Linked DNA regions of Homo sapiens: region 2 is linked to region 1. The links are contacts of gene promoters, found by promoter capture Hi-C in blood cells and fetal thymus (Javierre and others, 2016). All regions are on one chromosome and are shown on one strand. The core of a region is centred on a gene start or on the middle of the fragment in contact, and the rest is flanking DNA. Distances in the headings are between cores, read along the strand shown. Region 1 holds the start of SEMA6A (semaphorin 6A). Region 2 has its middle 190 kb from the start of MIR1244-2.

Region 1 (2,700 bases), core at 82-2,581:
TGCTCCCGGACACTTATTCGAGCAAACAAAGCCCGGAACCTCTGGTGGCAGCGGCCACAGGAGCCAGGATCTCACCGAGAGACAGGGCGCGCGGGTGCCTAGAGCCATTACAAGTTTCTTGCACTCCACGGAGCCCAGCCCAGACCCCACACTGACAACAAAAGATTCTCTCCGCTTCCACACCGTCTCCGCGGAACCCCTTCTCCCACCTGGCACTGGACGAAAACAGCGCTGTTATACCCAACCCCCTCCAGCCCTCGAGGGCAGAACCCCTTCCCCTGCCTTCGACACACCGGGCCAGGGAGCTTCCGAGAATCCCACCATTTAGGGCCCGCTCTGCTCCCTGCTGGGCACGCGGGAGGATGAGCCTTGGGTCTCGCACACACACCCCCAGGAGGAACAGCCATACGCGCCGTCGCGGCCCGGGGCGGCGCCGGGCGTGTGCGCAACGCGGGTGGGAAAGCTCTCGACGTGGAGCCGGACGCACTCTGGGGCGCAGGGCAGAGAGGAAAGGCAGGCAGGGCTCACGGCTGCTCCCCCAGGACCGGGCAAGGCTCGGGAAACAGAGACACAAGACAAAATAAAACGCAGGCACCACAAAGCCGACAGCACGCGCTAGCCACGGCCCCGGGACCCTCAGGCTGGAGTCCAGCTGCCCGGGAGGTGGGGCGCGCCCGGGCGCCCGGGGCGTACCTTTTCGGTGCATCGACGGACAGGCGGCCGGGGCTCGGAGCGAACTGGTACAGCGTGTATCCCATTTAGTAATCCATTATCGAGGGGATCTCTCCGGGCCGCGGGCTGCGCTCTCTCCTTCGCAAGCCTTTGTCATTCCTACATGTGTGCTTGTCTCTTTGGGGGAAATAGTCGCGGCGACTACTTTCTGGGATGCAAACGCGATGTGTTCATCTCCAATGACGAGCGGAGAAGGGGAGAGGAAAAAAGAAGCCAAAAAAAAAAAGAAGAAAAAGAAAAAGAAAACCAACAAGGAAGAGGGTAAATGTTCAAGAAACTCTTCTCCAAATCCAAATTCCACTTGGATTCCACTTCGGTGAGTCCCCTTGGTGGTGTCTGCGCCGATTAACAAGTCATTTCAGGGCGGGGGGCGGGGTGGGGGCTGGGGCAGGGGTGCAAGGCTCTGGCCCGGCTCTGCGGCCGGCAGCGCGGTGCCGCGGGTGTGGTGATGCTGGCCGCTGCTACACGCTGCTAAGCGGGCATCGCGGGCGACCGGCACCGCGGAGGAGCGCCGCTGCTGGGTTCCGAGCGCCTGGGCAGCCGAGTGCGCGGGGAGCGGAGTTGGCTGCAGCCTCACCCCGTGCCGCTCACTACTCCTCTGTCACCGGAGAGGCCGCCGCTCCCGGGCGGAGCCAAGTCCCGGACTGGATTGCGCAGATCGGACTCTCCTTCCGCAACTCCGCCTACTTTGGCTGGCGTCTCCTCCGACCCAAAGGAGAGCTGTGGTGTATGTGAGTGCGAGTGAGCGAGGCAGAGGCGGAGAAACTACGCGGTGTGGCTGCAGGTGGAGCCTTGGACCAACTGGCCAGCGCCGCTTCCTTCCACCAGGATTCCTGGCCCCACCGCGCGCTAGGCGGAGGCTCAGCGGGGGCGACTCTGGCTGGAGCCCAGCCCTCACCTCCCCCACCCCCACATCTGCTCTAGCTAGGAAAAAAAAAAAGAAAAAAAAAATCCCGGACAGCATTGCTGAGTCCTGCCAAATCAGAAAAATAAATAAAAATAGACGTAGTGCAGGAGCGAGTTACAAGAAAGGTTTTGTTCATCGATTTTCTTAAATGGAAAAGTTTTAAAGGATGAGGGTAAGTGAACGGCGAGCTTTTCTGATTCTGATTACTGTTATCAAGAGGTAGATTCCAGAAGCGATGGACGCTCTACGTAGTTAGATGAATTGGATAGAAGCCGGTGCGGTTAAAAATACACTTGGAAGATAAGAACACAGCTATTAATTACGCACATACACACGTTAATAAAGCATGTGAAGTAAGCAAATAAACTACAGTGCAGAGAATGGCGTTTTTAACGACGGCGATCTATTTTAAAACTTAATGAAGTTCACATTTTGTGGACTGGTCTTAGAAATAAGTAAACTTCAGAAATAACACGCATACAATTCCAGTGAGAACCCAAAAGGTTTATGGAAGAAGAAAATCGCAACCACTTCCAAGGCGCTATTGTTATGATCACATGAAGAATGGCAGGCACAGCCTTCTTTCACCACTTGAACTTTCAATAGCTACAAAGTCTTGCAGTTACAGGCTTGTGCCAACTCGTCGGGCCACACCACGTTCCCCTCCCCCTGCCGCTGCGCCCCGAAATCAACTGCGCGCCGCGGCTCTTGCTCCCCAAGGGGGCTTCGCAGATGGTACGGATCCTAGTCGCAACCTTTAAACAAAGTAACATCGGGCGGCCCAGCAGTTCTCGGAGAGATATTTACTAGTCATGGAGTTGGCTGAGAAAAGCAAGTGCGGAGATCGGGGTCTCAGTCCCACTTAGGCCGAGTTTCTTTATATTGGAAACTGTACCTGTTCCCTAATTGGGACTAAGACCACTAATAAGTCCACGTTCCCTCTTTGGTCGCTTCTCTAAGTACAGACATCTGCTTAAGAGGCTTCACGAAGAATAAATGCACATGGGTCAACACCCATTCCCCCCGCACCACTACCACCACCTGGAAAAGGTAGGGAGAAT
Region 2 (2,700 bases), core at 114-2,613, 2.2 Mb after region 1:
CAGAGAAGGGTAATGCTCAGAAGGATGCAGCCTCAGACATTTTGCAACATAGGAGAAGCCAAAAGAAACCCAGAGAGAGAAATCTCCCATGGAAGGGAATAGAGTTGTCTTCTAGACCAAGACACCAAAAAATGGGATTGCATAATGTGTGTGTGTGTGTGTGTGTGTGTGTGTGTGCGTGTCTGTGTGTGTGTGTCTGTGTGGCAGGGTATGAGCCCAGTCAGGGGTACAGGCAGCATCCACATCACTAATTTGAAATGCCTTCCCTTAGGAAGTTCCCAGTTAACTAGAACTTTGACCTCTATAAAACCTTTCTTAGAATACTCAAACCTTCAAAAAAGATCTTATATACTGACATTAAAGTAAGTCATGTGGGTCTGGTGAAGGCTAATGGAGCTTTCCTTCTGAGCTCCGGTGTAGAAAGGCATTGTTGCTGACCTTCCTGTCTACTCACACTCCAGGCCTGCAAGAGGCCTTCTGCAGTAATGGAGACTCCCTAATGTAGGAGGGACCCAAGACGCTCCGAACTTCATGACTCACCCATCCCATGTGACGATTTCCCCATAAGAAGAAGGAAGGACTCTAAGACCCCCAGTGTTGTGTTGACATATAGATTATGGCATTATTATACAGTATAATTATGATTTCTTCTTGTGCTGTTTGAAATTTTTTATCATAGATATTTGTGAATGGCTTATTGAACCCTGTCAACTCACTGGGATATAAAGGTGACTTTTTTTGGCAGTAGCTATTCCTAGATGTCTTATATAAGTAATGCCTTCCTTCATATAATCTTGACCCAGTTCCATAAGTTTTAAGACACTCTGACTTATACAAACAGTACCCTTTCTGTTTCCATGATTTAGTCCTATTTATTTAAAAAACTTCAGTAACACATCTGATTCAAATCTCTTCTCTCTACTCCCACCCCAGCCCCAAGCATACGCAAGAGCTTTGATTTTACTCCTCTGAAGTGGAGGGTTTGACTTCCACACCTCTCCTCTCCTCTTCCTCTACCCACTGTTGCTTGCTACCCTGTCAGGGTGTGGCTGAGGGAGCAAGAAAGGAACAAAAACTACCCTCCTGACTGGGCCGGTCTTGACTGATTTGTTGCAGTCTTGCCTTAGTTTGGTAGTATTAATTGCTGTTTTCACTCATTGTATATACACTCAGGGCAGTTGGTATGGATGGCTGGTTACTCCAACATGGCCCACTGGTAAAAAGCTCACTACCCACATCTGATTTTCCCCAATTCCCTGGCAAAGCAGACATCCCAAAAAGAAATAAAAATGATAGTTACCCTTTTGGAAGGTTGCCCTCCCAACCCTTTTTTTTTTTTAATGGAAATTCTTTCAGGACCTCCTCTTATCCTTGGGGAAAGAAAGCATCTTCTCTCCAAAATGTGAGTGAGGGGATAGACTTTCTTCTTGTGTTGACAGTGTGGAAGGAGGGTGGTTGGTTGTAGAGCTGGTTTCTGTATTTGTTTCCATCTTAAGCCTGAGGAGTGGTAGCTGAACCACCTGTTGGCTTTGCTTTGAACTAAAAATGTGGGATTTAGCCATTATTCTGGTACAATCTGACAGCTTATTTGTTAACACTTGTATTTTCTTTATTAAAAATAAAAAATTATAATAACATATGGCCTATGAAAATATGGTATAGGTATACACAGAGAACACTTTCATAGAACAGCAAAGGGCTACTTCCCCAATCCTACAAAAGGAAGGATCATGAACAATTTGCTAAAGAAGAGAAAGTCTTACCTAAATCATAATCGGAAAGTAGAAATTATCCTACTGGAAATGAAGAGGTAGAGGAAGGTTAATCAACCTTGGCAATATTGACATTTGGGCCAGATAATTCTTTGTTATGGAAGGGTGACATTCTTGGACTCTATGCACTATGTGCCAGTAGCACCCCTCCCCAAGTTATGACAAACAAAAATGTCTGCAGATGTTGCCAACTGTCTCTTCAAGGGACAAAATTGTCCCTGGTTGAAAATCACTGGGGTAGAGTTTTATAGGTAGAGGAAAAAATTGTAACCAAAGGCACCAGGTATGGAACAGCATGATATTTCTGAAAACTACACATAGTTCTATATTACTCAAGTACAAAGTGCAATGCCGGGCATAATGGGAGATAGCAATGACAAATATGGAAGCCTGATAATGGAACATCTGGTCGGGATTGCAGATGTTATGGAATGGCATCCCTATGGTGATGGTAAGTCTCAGAAAGGGAATGACACAGTCAGATTTGAATTTCAGACAGATGGTAAGAGGATATGGGAAGAGTAAGACTTTTGGCAGCTGGACCACTCAGGAGCTATGTCAGAAATCAAGATAGAGATGAGAAAATGCACCTGAACTGGAGGAGTGGAAGGAGGGACAGGGAGGGGCTGAATTGTATGTAGGAAGCCTGGGTGGATGGTCCCACAGCTGAAGAAAAGAGAAGACAGAAGGATGGGCTTTCACCTTCCTTGCTGGGAAGAAAAAAGTTTGGAAGGGTTGAGTTGTGGGTGTCTTCTTGTTGGTTAGTTTAAGAACTTAGCCTATGGAAATCTATTTCATCTTCATAGTTTTCTGAATTTTCCAATTCAGAATTCAAATTTTCTGGGAATTCAAATGACAAAGACACTTAGATTTTGATCCCTATCACCTTAGGTAATTTATTCAACACACAAAGCATCACAAACAACTC

Evidence for each region. The method cuts DNA at HindIII sites, captures the fragments that hold promoters and counts their contacts. A CHiCAGO score of 5 or more calls a contact.
Region 2: a contact is called between a fragment that was not itself captured here and the fragment with the promoter of SEMA6A in region 1, in 1 of 17 cell types (endothelial precursors). The highest score is 11.9, in endothelial precursors.

What each region holds. Positions count from the first base shown.
Region 1 is chr5:116,573,492-116,576,191 of GRCh38, forward strand. SEMA6A (semaphorin 6A) reads right to left here and starts at 1,332. Exons shown (of 19, transcript NM_020796.5): 1 at 694-1,332. SEMA6A-AS2 (SEMA6A antisense RNA 2) reads left to right here and starts at 927. Exons shown (of 3, transcript NR_147170.1): 1 at 927-1,048. RefSeq lists a silencer at 1,088-1,167. The HindIII fragment of the contact is 8,307 bases long and covers 1-2,700 here.
Region 2 is chr5:118,786,285-118,788,984 of GRCh38, forward strand. No RefSeq gene overlaps it. Among named protein-coding and RNA genes, the nearest start is that of MIR1244-2, 190 kb to the right of the region's middle. The HindIII fragment of the contact is 6,843 bases long and covers 1-2,700 here.